Linked DNA regions of Homo sapiens: regions 1, 2, 3 and 4 are each linked to region 5. Evidence: promoter capture Hi-C in 16 types of primary human blood cells and fetal thymus (Javierre and others, 2016). All regions are on one chromosome and are shown on one strand. Each heading gives the region's core, a stretch centred on a gene start or on the middle of the fragment in contact. The rest is flanking DNA. Distances are from core to core; before and after follow the strand shown. Region 1 overlaps LOC124906112 (a long non-coding RNA gene). Region 2 overlaps TYW5 (tRNA-yW synthesizing protein 5). Region 3 overlaps C2orf69 (chromosome 2 open reading frame 69). Region 4 overlaps LOC124906112 (a long non-coding RNA gene). Region 5 holds the start of SPATS2L (spermatogenesis associated serine rich 2 like).

Evidence for each region. Contacts are between HindIII fragments. The CHiCAGO score rates a contact against its expected background, and 5 or more counts as called.
Region 1: a contact is called between a fragment that was not itself captured here and the fragment with the promoter of SPATS2L in region 5, in 2 of 17 cell types (M1 macrophages and erythroblasts). The highest score is 6.8, in M1 macrophages.
Region 2: a contact is called between a fragment that was not itself captured here and the fragment with the promoter of SPATS2L in region 5, in 1 of 17 cell types (M1 macrophages). The highest score is 5.6, in M1 macrophages.
Region 3: a fragment that was not itself captured here is called in contact with the fragment with the promoter of SPATS2L in region 5 in 1 of 17 cell types (M1 macrophages); the score reaches 5.3 in M1 macrophages.
Region 4: a fragment that was not itself captured here is called in contact with the fragment with the promoter of SPATS2L in region 5 in 4 of 17 cell types (M1 macrophages, M2 macrophages, naive CD4 T cells and 1 more); the score reaches 9.0 in M1 macrophages.

What each region holds. Positions count from the first base shown.
Region 1 is chr2:200,037,667-200,040,366 of GRCh38, reverse strand. All of the region lies in intron 1 of LOC124906112 (a long non-coding RNA gene), which reads left to right. Among named protein-coding and RNA genes, the nearest start is that of MAIP1, 83 kb to the right of the region's middle. The HindIII fragment of the contact is 169 bases long and covers 1,315-1,483 here.
Region 2 is chr2:199,930,638-199,933,337 of GRCh38, reverse strand. TYW5 (tRNA-yW synthesizing protein 5) reads left to right here. Exons shown (of 8, transcript NM_001039693.3): 8 at 15-2,700. The coding sequence ends at 271. Among named protein-coding and RNA genes, the nearest start is that of C2orf69, 21 kb to the right of the region's middle. The HindIII fragment of the contact is 1,298 bases long and covers 786-2,083 here.
Region 3 is chr2:199,913,592-199,916,291 of GRCh38, reverse strand. All of the region lies in intron 1 of C2orf69 (chromosome 2 open reading frame 69), which reads right to left. Among named protein-coding and RNA genes, the nearest start is that of C2orf69, 3.6 kb to the right of the region's middle. The HindIII fragment of the contact is 236 bases long and covers 1,308-1,543 here.
Region 4 is chr2:200,020,665-200,023,364 of GRCh38, reverse strand. The region is part of intron 1 of LOC124906112 (a long non-coding RNA gene); the gene reads left to right. Among named protein-coding and RNA genes, the nearest start is that of MAIP1, 66 kb to the right of the region's middle. The HindIII fragment of the contact is 2,955 bases long and covers 1-2,700 here.
Region 5 is chr2:200,305,322-200,308,021 of GRCh38, reverse strand. It overlaps SPATS2L (spermatogenesis associated serine rich 2 like), which reads right to left and starts at 1,329. Exons shown (of 13, transcript NM_001100423.2): 1 at 1,100-1,329. RefSeq lists silencers at 365-694, 715-1,444 and an enhancer at 1,855-1,954. The HindIII fragment of the contact is 4,184 bases long and covers 1-2,700 here.

The DNA of each region.
Region 1 (2,700 bases), core at 150-2,649, 270 kb after region 5:
AAAAAATTGTCCTAATCATTCATTCATTTGTATATTCATTAAATTATTCATTCAATACAAACTACATTTGCCCAATAAATATTTGCATGGGCATACAAATAAGCATGGCCTCTGGCTACAGACTTCCATCAGGCATTTTTTATATTCTCACTTTCTGGCTTCCCCTAAAGTGCTGGGGTTGCAAGAATGAGGAACATTTCAGAATGGTTATCATTATGCTATCTTTAAAAGTAACAAGCTCCTGGTTTTAATTAATCTTGGTCCCTGACTTTTTCATGAAAAGAAAAGTCAGTGAGCTCATGCTGTGGTGTCTCTTTCCAGAGCTGATGTGGTTAGTCGTTCTCGTGTGAAACTGCCAAAGGCAGACTGGGTTACTGTCCTATGGAACATCTGCACAGTGTTTATCATTTTGGCATTTGAGAACTATGTAAATACGTGCAGACCCGTGACAACCTCAGGATTTTGTTTCCAAATGCGCCATCAATGAATAACGGCCCAAATGAGCAAAATCATCTGGGCAACAATTTGGGTGGAGAGTAAGGCTGGGAATTGCAATGTGCTTCCAAGTGCTCTGGGGGTAAAAATCTTTTCCTATCATTGCATAACAATAAAGTCTTTGGGAGCACAATAATGTGTAGAATGGCTTTAGAATCAGACAACTTGCATTTGTTCTGGAAGCACATATTTAAATCTGGCCTAGGATCATTACTGACAGAAGCAACTTTCTTGATTAAGTCAGTCCCATGAAGGAACAAACATCTTTATTACAGAGAGCACCTTCTCCTACTAATTTTCACCTTAGCAGCAAAGGCCAAATTCCCTCAGCTGAGCCACAGCTCTCAACTCAGAACTCAGTGCCTCCATCTCACCTGCTGGTAATTGAAGATAAATTCAACTTGTGCTGCCTCTGTTAGTGCCCGAGTGGTTCTCTCCTTTCACATAACTCAATCATTTGTCTTCAACTGGTATCTTAGAGATGTGCAAAGGCACTAAGGCAATTATTTTTGACTGTCTCCTAGAACTCAAGAAACTCCTTTGTAGAAGGCTGAAACCATGCCTGGTCATTTAGTCTGCCTAGACTTAAAAAGACATCAAATACAAATAAATTCTGGGAAATAAATCAACTTTAGGCCTTTTTTTTACTGCTGAAGGCTTAAATTAATTCCCAAAAAGGCTAATTACGTCTTTCTTTGCTCAGTAGTTGGGCTTAATAATAAGCACCAAACATATGGCAGAGATTGGGCTGCAGAATCCATCATGGCCTTCTGTTCAGCAGCAAGGGGAGGTCTTAAAGGAAATTACATACAGAAAGCTTGTACGTGTTAAACATTGTAGTACCCATTATTGCTGGAAACAATAACTGCTAACCTGGCTTCTAAATTTCTTTCAATTCACTAGTAATCAAAGAAGTGTAATGTGAAATATAAGTTGAGCATCCCTAATCTGAAAATCCACAATTCTGTATGCTCCAAAATCGAAAGCTTTTTGAGTGCTGGCAGGACACCACAAGTGGAAAATTTCACACTTGACCTCATGTGGTGGGTCCCAGAAAACACTGTCAAAAGTTCGTTTCATGCACAAAATTATTTAAAATATTGTACAAAACTATGCTCAGGCTCTGTGTACAAGGTGTATATGAAACACAAATGAATTTCATGTGTAGACTTGGGTTCCGTCCCCAAGATATCTCATTATGTATTTGTAAATATTCCAAAATCCAAAACAATCCAAAATCCAGAATATTTCCGGTCCCAAGCATTTCAGATAAAAGATACTCAACCTGTACACTAATAATCTATTTTTATTTTTTGTTGTTTTGTTGTGTTTTTTGAGACTGGGTCTTGCTCTTTTGTCCAGGCTGGAGTGCAGTGGTGTGATCATAGCTCACTGTAGCCTTGAAATCTTGGGCTCAAGCGAGTCCCCCACCTCAGCCTCCCATGTAGCTAGGACTACAGGCACACACCACCATGCCTAGCTAATAATAATAATAATAATAATAATAACACTTTTGTAGAGATGAGGTCTCCCTATGTTGCTATGTTGCCCAGGCTGTTTTGAACTCCTGGCCTCAAGTGATCCTCCTGACTTGGTCTCCCAAAAGACAGGGATTATAGGCAGGACTGACCTCTGAACCCAGGCACTAAGGCTCCCAAGCACACCCACCCATTTCCAGCCTCTATTTTTCAACTATCAGATTAATAGTGATTTTTAAATAATGATAATACTGGGGATAATTTGATAAAATAAGTATATTTATACCTTATGTTGAGAGTCTAAATTTGGACAATCTTTCTGAACAGCAATTTTAAAACGAAAGGTAAAAAGGTTACAAGTATTTACTCAGATGTTTTGATCCAGTCACTTTATTCCTAGAAATCTCTCTGAAGGAAATAGTATAAACCATAGACAGAATGTTAATTGTAACATTGTTTATAACACCAAAATATGCAACGAGAGAATGATTTTTAAACTATATACATCTACCATATTCTATGGCACATTATGCAGCCATTAAAAATTATGTTGACAAATATTTTCAAAGGCAGAGGGGAAGTGAAAATAGGATACAGAACAATGGATACACCATGACTTTGACTGTGTAAAATAATATATCACACACATATTGGAGATAAAAACATATTACTTTTAAAACTGCAGCAGTCAACCAGGTGTGGTGGCTCACGCCTGTAATACCAGCAC
Region 2 (2,700 bases), core at 185-2,684, 370 kb after region 5:
TAAACTTTCTCCAGCTTTATGGTTCCATAATGTAATTTCTGAAGAGTTTGGAGTGGGAGTGAATATCTTTTGGAAGCACCTTCCATCTGAATGCTATGATAAAACAGATACCTATGGAAACAAAGATCCTACAGCAGCATCAAGAGCTGCACAAATTCTGGACAGAGCCTTGAAAACACTGGCCGAGTTACCAGAGGAATATAGGGACTTCTATGCACGACGAATGGTCCTACACATTCAAGACAAAGCCTACAGCAAGAACTCTGAGTAAATAATGAAGTGAATGCAATGCACATTAACACTTTAGTAAGGTATAACGATATAAATTAAAGATTTTGTTAAAATAGGAAAGATACATCAGATTTACAGATTATGTAAGTACGAAGGGGTGTTTGTGTGGATTCTACTTGATACAGATTGTTATAATTAAAGAATGCTGTGCTGGGACCACTCTTTAACATTCAGATGCTGACCACTAAAAGTCCAACTTAAAATGACTTAAAAACAGTAAGAAAATATATTGATTCACAATACATGAAATCTATTGACAGAATGTGCTGCAGTGTTTCTGATCCAATGATTCAGTAATGTCATCAAGAACCTTGGGAACCCGCCTCCACACCCCACCCCCTTTTCAACCACAACATTGGCATCATCCTAAGGCTGGCTACCCTCGTGGTCATGGGATGATTGCCAGTAGCAGTTGGAGCCTTGTGCATCTTCATTTACATGCAGCGGAAGAGTCAGGCTGGATTCTAGGGGCCCTGTCCTAGTATGAGAAAGCTTTCCCAGAATTCACTTTCCATATCCTTAGGTCTCATTGCTCTAAAGTAACTTAGACCTGTCCATCCCTGAGCCAGTCACTGGCAAAGGGTCTAGAATAACCTTTAGGGCAGTCAGGTCCACTGGAGCTGAGAGTAGAAGTGGAGGCCACATGAGGGATATATGGGGACAGAAAGGATAGTTTTTTTAAAATCATGGTTCTGATAGGAAAAACATGAGCAACGCACAATATCTATTACATTTGCCTAGAAGCAGAATTTTTTGAGGAACTTTAAAAAATGTACAGATACCTAGGTCCCAACTTTGTAGACTGATTCAAGAGTGTTTGGGATTTGGTATAGGAACTTAATAGACCTCACAGGGTGTTCTGATGCATAATCAGAGCTGAGATCAACTGGAGTTGATGATAGTGACTTGGATTATTAGTTTTGTGATTAGTGCAAAACAAATGTTTAATCTGATCTTGACTTTTCTTGCCACCCAGTATGTCAGGGTGGTTTTTGGTTTTTGAATGTTACAAAATAAATAATTTATACCTATGTCTAAACCTTAGCCTAGTTAAAGATTTCCCAACTATTTTTTCCACCTATCCCTTTTTTAAAAGAAAAATTACTTAAAGAATGAATAAATGAGATCCTAAAAGTGTTGTCATCGAAGACAGTGAGCCATTGTGTGTGGATCTCTGCTTTTGTTTTGTACCTAGTAATTATATTGCAGTGTCATTGAAGACCACATAATCTTCACTGAACATAAATGTGTTCATCTAAAGCAATCTCTTAGTACATCAATTTGGTGCATTTTAATTAGAGAAAATCATTTTCTCTATTGAAGAGAATCCATCCACTCATGTCCTATAAATTATAGTAAATAAGGAAAAGCATATATAACATTCTGAATTTCCTAGGTGTCTTTGGAAACAGGTAAGTTACTCAGGTGAATAAAGGTGAAAAAAGTCTTGTCAGAAAAGGAATGATTATATTAGCCAAATTTAATTACCAGGTTTTGATCTTCATTAAGCAAAGCAAAGAACTTCTTTACTGATTCCTTGTCCTTCAGTAAGGAAAAAGACAAAACTCTCCTTAGTTTACACATTATTTATGGTCAGTTTTTAATAAATCTTGTTTTTTTTCTTAACCAGCAAGAGAATTGATACAAAGTATAAATCCAGAGTCATGTAGAAAACTTGGAAGTATTAATAAAACAGATTACAGTTTGTGCACTGAATAGTCATCTTAATTGATTGTTTAATGGAGAAGCAAACTGGATGACCTTAGACAAAATAACATTTATCTATGAAGCTTATTTTCCTCATCTTTAAAACAGAACTACAAAAATGCAGAGAGTTCAAGGGCAGGCACATAGTTGATAACTGGTGCTAGTTCTTCTATTTAATTATATTCCATCTTTGTTGAGAGATTTGAGGTAGCTCCTGTTGCAGTATTAATTTATAATATTTTAAAAGTTAGAGAACTTTCCTTTGGGATGTTTTAAAATTATTTCCCTGGTCATAATTAATATTAGGGTCTGTTTATTTCAAATACAAAATATTTTAATCTTTTCTTCCTACTGGGTTAAGACCAAATGAGATGTTTGTTTTTAATGTATAAAATCTTATACAGTGTATGTTAGCTGCAACTTCTCAGGAATTCTGAATCTTAGAACTTTTTTATTGAAAGAGATCTTAGAAGCCATCTAACCAACCCAGATTGCTTAATGATTGTCTGGGTTCACATAGCTATGGGTGATAGAAACCGGGATTCGTTGTGACCAGTAATTCTCCATTCTCCCTAATGTGCAGCACATCTCCAGTACTTCTGAATAGATTACACAGCTTTTCTTTGGCTAGTTTGGGGGCTTGACCTGATGCAAAAAGGAATTTTTTTCCTCTGCCAACAAAATTTCTCACTGCACTGCTTG
Region 3 (2,700 bases), core at 176-2,675, 390 kb after region 5:
GTAACTGAATCATGGGGCAGGTTACCTTCATGCTGTTCTCATAATACTGAGTGAGTTCTCATGAGATGGTTTTACAAGGGGCCTCCCCACCTTCGGTCTCATTCTTCTCCCTCCTCTTGCCATGTGAAGAAGGACACATTTGCTTCCCCTTCTGCCATGATTGTAAGTCTCCTGAGGCCTCCCAGCCCTGTGGAACTGATTCAATTAGACCTCTTTCCTTTATAAATTACCCAGCCTCGGGTATGTCTTTATTAGCAGTGTGAGAATGGACTAATATATATGGCCTTAGCTTTCTTGTAATTCAAATGATAAAGGAAAAGTACAGAATTTTTAAAAAGGACATACAACAAAACATGACTGCAAAAGGAACATCAAGAAGTTAATAGGAATTAAGAGGACTTAAAATCATATGAAAAACCAGTTCCAATTAACAAACACCAAATAATGAAACAGTATCAAGATAGGTGAAGCTTCAGGCCAGGTGCGGTGGCTCACATCTATAATCCCAGCACTTTGGGAGGCTGAGGTGGGAGGATCACCTGAGGTCAGGAGTTTGAGACCAGCCTGGTCAACATGGTGAAACCCCATCTCTACTAAAAATACAAAAAAAAAGAAAAATTAGCCAGGCGTGGTGGCATGCTCCTGTAGTCCCAGCTACTCAGGAGGCTGAGGCAGGAGAATCGCTTGAGCCTGGGAGGTGGAGGTTGCAGTAAGCCAAGATCACGCCACTGCACTCCAGCCTGGGCAACAGAGCAAGACTCCATCTCAAGGAAAAAAAAAAAAAGATAGGCAAAGCTTCTAATACTATCTTACAAAATTCTGTTTAGCCCTATTCTGTTCAATATTTCTTCAAATTAAGAATAAAGCTATAACAAGAATGCTCAGCGAGGTGTGGTGGCTCATGCTTGTAATCCCAACACTTTAAAAGGCTGAGGCAGGAGGATCACTTGAACACAGGAGTGGGCAACATAGTGAGACCCTGTCTCTCTAAAAAATAGTAATAAAAGAAAATAAAGAAAATAGAATGTCTATAGGCATTCTAAAAGCATCAACACAATAAAAAGATGGGCTGTACTCAGCAGCGAAAAGTTCATAAGGATAGATATTAGGCTCAAAAGAATCAAGTACAAAAATACAGATGAAGAAATCAGCCTAACAGCATTTTATATAATAGCCAACACATTTCAAGTATTTCATGCATTGTTCAAAGCAATTAAAAAATACTCATTTATACAAGTCATCTACTGCACACCTAAAACATGCAACTCTCAAGCATCGCAGATTATATCGGTGAACAAACGTAAGCTTATATTTTAGTGGCAGAAGGCAAACAAAACTCAAAACGAAAACTAGTATAGTAAATGCAATGGGTAATAATAAAGAAGAAAAGTTGATAGGAAGCCTATATATACTATGATTATTAAACAGGATGGTCAGAAAAGGCCTCAGAGAGGCAGAGTCTTGAGCAGACCTGGAAGAGGTGAGGTAATAAACCTACAAGTCATCTACTTGGAAGGCTGTTCCAGGCAGTATACAGAAAGCTTTTTAGGTATAGTGTGCCTGACATGTTTGAGCAACACCAAGAAAGCCAGAGAGGCTGGAGAAGAGTAAACAGAAAAAGGAGACCAAGTCAGATAGGTAACAGGGTGGGAAAAGATAGAAATAATGAAAAGCCTTGCAGGACAGGATATTAACAGGAAGGACTCTGGCTCTTACTCTGAGTGACATGGGAAGTGACTGCACAGTTTTGAGCAGACGTGGAATGATTTGACTTACATTTTTCAATGGTTATTCTGATTACTTTAGATACACTGAAAAGGTAAAACCACTAGATTTGATGAAATGAGGTATGAAAGACAGTTCTAATGGATGACTTCAAGATTTCTATCTTGAGCAACTAAGAAGGTAAAGTTTCCATTAATGACATGAGGAAGACTGCATAGGGGTAAAGATCCAGAGATTTTAGGTTTAGGATATCTATTAAATATCCAAAAGGAAATAATCGTGCATATAATTGGTTGGCCTAAAGTTTGGGGAATATGTGTAGGCTAGATACATAAATGTTGAGGGGTGTCAGTGTACAGGTAGTGAGTAAAGCCATGAGACTGAAGGGAGTGAACACAGACAGAGGAAACATGGAAGAACAGACGACTAGGATACTCCAATAATTTTTAAAGTCACCAGAGAGATAAGAAGGGACCAGAACTCATTTAGTATCCACACATTTAATCTCCATTGACACCTTATAAACTATTATTCTTATTTTGTAGTTGAAGTAGCTGAAACACAGAGAGATGTAACAATTGTCCAGGGACTTTATACCTAAAAAGTTCTAAATCAGGGTTCAAACCCAGGCAATCTGGCCTCAAACTGTATGTAAGACTTTTTAGACTTCCTCTGAAGACTTGTACTATATATCCTGGCTGGCACACTTTAAAAACACTTAGGAGGTGCTCAATAAATGTAATCATTATCATCATCATTATTTTAGGAATGCATGCAGTAATTGTTCCACAAAATTATTCTGGCAGTCATAGTCGGAAATGTCACATGTTATTTTCCCAATCTGAGCCACAAGGGCACCAAGTAAGTAAGTGGCTTTTTTTTCTCTTAAATCTAAGTAGTAGTTGTTTTTTTCTTTATTCTCTTTTTTTTTCTCCAGTTTTTATTAGCAGTCAACTAAACCAGTCAATTATTTTG
Region 4 (2,700 bases), core at 56-2,555, 280 kb after region 5:
AGTCCTTGTACCATTGTAGTACATGTCACTAAAGGATCAAACAAAAATAGAGAAGGAACTCAACAAGTTTTGATTTGTATGTGCCCCGTTCCTCCTTCAACATACATGCTCTAGAGGTAAAGAAACATGCGAGTCCCTCCCCTTTTACGTTCCTTCATGAAGCCTTGGATAATACCGAGTCCTTTTTGATGGAATACCACAATAACCAGTGACTTAATAAATGTTATTGTTTGAGGAAGCCAATCTTTATTTGAGTAGCTATTGCCAGCCAAATTCTTTATTAATTTATCAAATATTTATAGAAAATCTAAACAGACCATTTGTATAGGAGCTGTATCTGTCAGAGTTCTTTGGTTGCAGGCCACAGAAACTGAGTCTGGTTGACTTTAACAAAAAAAGGGAACTTACTGGACTGGATTTCAGTAGCTCAGAAAACTGGATTAAAAAAAAGAATTTAAAGAACCCAGGTTCAGAAAGGACAATAATCAGGACAGCTCTGATTAGGATCTTGGTAGCAGAAACTGATGAATACTCTATTGAGGGCAGCATGGGAGAAATGAATTAACTCTAATCCTTCCGTTAGTTGGCCTAGCATTCAAACTGCAGGAGGAGTCTGACTGGCATGGCTGGAGTCTTGGCCCAGGGAAGGAGGACATGTTGATCGAAAATACAACCAAATCTGCAATAGACAGCAGATGGTTGCTCAAAGGAAAACCAAATGACTATTTACCCAAAGAAAGAGGAAGGGATTCTAGGCAGGCAAAAACAAAAACAAAAACAGGCATACATTTCTAGAGCTATGTCATTATCTTATATGAATTGGAAAATCAATGATTATTAAACAAAACAGGTAAATCATATCTTAACCCACTTTCTTGGTTGTGCTTTCTACAGTGTGTATTTGTGTACTTTTTTACTTGTTTCATTAAAATAAAACATGTTCAGTGCCTTAATACCTGGTTGTAAGGTAGATTTGTTGTGGATTTAACCCTCAGACAGGCCAATCTGCCTTTAAGCCTTAGCTCTTACTCCAACCACGTATCTTACAAAAATAGATCTTTTTTCACAAAGAAGAAGTAGAGATATGAATGGATCAGCAAAAAATATTTTAAGTGATTTTAAAATTATTTAATGAAAGCATTTTATGTAGGCACTGCCCTGCTAGACTCATGGGCAGCAAAAAGATAGATGCACACCACAAAAAGTACTTCCCACACCTAAGTTTATAATGAACATGTGCACACGCAAGCAATTAAATGACAGTTCAATAAGAAATATGTAACCCAGATGTCAGGGGAAACTCTACATTCTTTTCCTTCCCAATATTTACGTCCTGAAGAGTCCCAGAAGTTCCCATACTCAATGTCATTTTTGAATCTTAGTTTCTGTTACCCCTGAAATCTTATTTTCACTTTTATTTTTGCCCCACAATTGTTGCCTTTTCTGTGTTCCATACGAAACCAGAAATACCCCCACTAAAAAAAAGGGGCGTGTTGAGTACAGCAAACTCCACTCAAACATTGGTGAGAAGAAGGGGACCCACATCAAAGAAGAGCTAATAGGTAAAAAGTGTTTGATTTCTATATTTTTAAAAGTCTTTTAACTATTTCCAACAATTCAGGCCACAGCATTCTGTCATGTATTTCAGCCCTCTACTTTTTTCACTGCTTATCAGTAATCTACCCCATGTTACTATGCAAAGCAATCTAGGTTTCGTCAATGCAGCTGCAGCACTCCCTTGGTAGAACCAAACACTCACTAGCTGTTGGACAATTGATCACCTACTTCCTCATCAGTCTCTACAAGAGAACTGGATCAGATTTTTTCCCAGGGGTATGAATCCTGCCACCCATCCTTAGGGGCGTCAAGGGGGGCAGAAATGGCTATAGTTAACCTACATTTTAAATAAGAGTTTGCCCTCTGTCACGACTGCTCTGAGTGGGCCCATGAGGGAGGGAAGGTTGTGGGTCTTAACAGTGTGGAAGAGATTTTAGGGAAGGACTCTAACTTGAACTCATGACTGTGACTTAAAAATGCAGGGATCAAATTTAAACTGAAAACTTCAGACTAAAATTTTGTAACCAAATATATACATATTGGTGTGTGTGTATATACACACACACACACACACACACATATATATATACACACACACACATATATATTTCTCTCACTTTCTTTTCCAAATCCCGTCAAAATATCATAAGTAATATCAAAATAAGAACAAACCTATTGCATTACTGAAAACCAAGAGGGCATCTTCAAGCAAGTAAAAAATTTCTGGAATATATAAAGCAAATGACATATTTCCCCGAAGCTGAAGAATCTGCAACCCATGTAGTTGAACAGAAAAAAAGAAAAAAAAAAGAGAGAGAGAGAAAATAAAAGATTAAAAGGAAGAAAAGAAGGAAGGAAGAAAGTTAGTTTTCCAGACGAACTTTGAAATCCTAAAACCAACAATAGTTGGAATTAAAAGGAGCTGGAAATGGGGTGACAGGCTGGGTGAATAATTAAAGACCTGTGGAACAGCTGCACGAGTCCCCTGCTCTCAGAATTGCTGGTTCTGTTGTTTGCCTGCAGGATACAATTTTCCATTTGTGAAATAATTTTTAAACCCTGATACAGAGTATTCCCAGGATGGTTGTTGGGACCAGAAAAGCAGGGCACTCCCTAGGTAATATATGATCACTACGAGATTCG
Region 5 (2,700 bases), core at 80-2,579:
AAGTCTGTCGGCTTGTGAGGGGGCTGGTACATATTTTAATATTTAAATTTCAAAAAATAAGCAATGAGACTGTGTTTGAAGTTCAAGGGTTTTCACTAGTTCTCAAGCTACAAACCCTGTAATATAGCCAAAAGAAAACGTACAGAAAGAATCTTTCACGAAAAGTGTCAGGTCTCCAAAACCCCGACATCTGCTAAAACCAGGATTGCGGGGGGGATGAGAAGCTCGTGAAGTTCAAAAACACACCAACCCCGCGGGAACACGAAACCTCCACTCGCGAAGACGCGACGCTTCCGCCGCATCCCCGCGCAGGTGAAGACTCGGCCCTTCAGCCCCGCGTGTGCGGCAGCATGATATTCAGAGTGCGCCGGCGTCCAGCGCGAGCGCATCCTACGACAACCCCGTCTCCCGCTGGGGTCCGCAGCCCGCGGACTCCGGGGTCCCCCCGCCCAAATGCGGCGGCGCGACCGCTTCGTCCCGCGGCCAGGGCGCTCCGCGTCTGCTCCGGCCACCCCAGCCCACCCGCGCAGCGCGGACGCCAACGCATCCCACTCCCGCTGGGCGCCAGGGGCGCGGGGTTCAGTGGGGCCGCGGCCCCCGCACCCGGCTGGGATCCGAGGGCGGGGTGGTCGCGGCTGACGTGGGCTTTGCGGCTCCGGGCCAGAGAGCAGCCTGGGGGACGGTGGGTCTCTTTCCGGCTTGGGAGGGAACGGGGGCGCCCGCGCGGGAGGACGGCAGGCGAGGGACGGCGGCCGCGGGCGATTCAGATCCGGGGCGGGCGGGTACACGTCGGAGCGCGGCGGCCACACGCTCGCCCGGGGAGCGCCACTGTGCGTCCCAGCCGGCGCCTCCTCCCGCTTGCCCGCGCCGGCTGGAGAAAGGAAGGACGGCGACCTTCGCGTCCGGTCCGCGCCACCAGCCCGCCTCGGCGCCGAGCGCGGGCCACACCCAGCGCTCCGGGAGGCGGCGGAGGCTGGGCGGCCCGGGCTGCGGAATGCTCGGCCCAGCCGAGTCTCCGTCCCGGCCGCGCAGGCCCCTCCGCGTCCGCCCGCGCCCTGCATCCCCAGCCGGCCCGGCGTGGAGGGGGTCCTGGGCTTACCTCTGTGTCGAGCGCCGGCTCCTCCGTCCCGGGCCGGAGCCGGGGCCCGGGGGCGCGGTCGCCAGGGGAGGCGCCGCGGCGGTGGCGGCCCCTGCGGCTCGGAGGGCGGGCCGAGCGGGAGCCGCTGCCTGGGCCGCGCGCCGTCCGGAGCTCGCCCCGCGCTGCCGGCGCTTGCAGCGGAGGGCGCAGCCAGCTCGGCCCCCGGACTGGATTCCTTCACTGACACAACTCCGGCTCGGCCGCCCCACGCAGGGACACTCCCGCCCCTCGCAGGCTGCCCCCGCCCGCCGACCCGCCCGCCTTCCCCTCGGTGTCACTCACCAGGAGCACACACCCCAGCCGGCGCCCCTCGCTCCCGCTCGCAAACACAGCGCTGCTCACGCCTCTCTCGGGTTTTGTATCCGCTCACACGCACGTTCTGACACAGATCTCGTCCCTCCACACGCCCTCCCTAGCTCCTTTCCCACCCCACTTTCTAGAAGAATCCCAGTACAGCTTCCGCACTTTGCTTGCTTGCTCCAGACCGACTTCCTCGCCTTTCCCCAAACCTCCACTTCACCGAAACTCCCCTTGTTAATGAAAGATTTTGTCACAATCCGCACGTGTTGCAAGAGAATCATCTTCTCCTACCCGAGAAAATGAACTTTGCTCCCTCAGCACTGTCTGCAAATACGAGATGTTTTTCCTTTTAGAAGGTAGTAATGCTTTCTGGAGAGGATCCAAGCTCAAAATGTAAGCAAAGATAGCCCATTCGAAAATGACCTGAAAAATCAGGCGCGGAAAAAGTGCTGGAGCTCGGGTCAGCCCTTGGAAACCCGACCAACCCGGGGTGTTCCGCCGCCTCCTCTGCGCTGCGGGTCTGCACACTGGGCTCCAAACGTGTGTGTAATAACCAAGTTACACATGGGCATCGTGGGCTTCAGCCGTGGGTTTCTGCCTGGGAGTACAGTAGTCGGGAGAGTAAAAGCAGTTTCTCAATCATTATTCATGATGGAAGCACTTTAGATAACACTCTTCTTCCAGAGGCAGTAGAGTGAAATGCAGGCAGCTCTCCAATTCAGGTTTTTATTTATTTATTTATTTATTTATTTATTTAGAAGGGTGACTTCTTAGCTTCCTTTTTTTTTTTTTTTTTTGGCAATACCAATAACTGTTTCTGAGTGGCTCCTTGGCTGTCAAGCTCCTTACAAATATCAGACCAGAGTTTGTTATGCTTCTCGAGCTCCAGACTCTAATGGGCCTCCGAGGGCACTGCAGAATCGTACATAATCCGATGTTCAGGAATTCATAATTTGAAATAAAATACAAACACCTTTCGGATAAAGTTCAAATCTGCTAACATAATGTGGCCCTGTTGACAACGCACTGCTGAAATAAAGAGAGGAGCTAAAACGAAAGGAATTCATTTTCTTATGTGACTTGGAGTGGTTCTTGCTACCTTATAGTCGCCTTGGATTGGTGTGTGGATAATATAATTTATTTAACAGACATTAGCAAGTGCTTTATAAGTACTAGCTCATTTAATCCTTGGAAGAACCCCATCAGGTAGGTACTACTTTTGTCCTGTTTTACAGATAAACTGAGGGCTGGGCCCAGTGGCT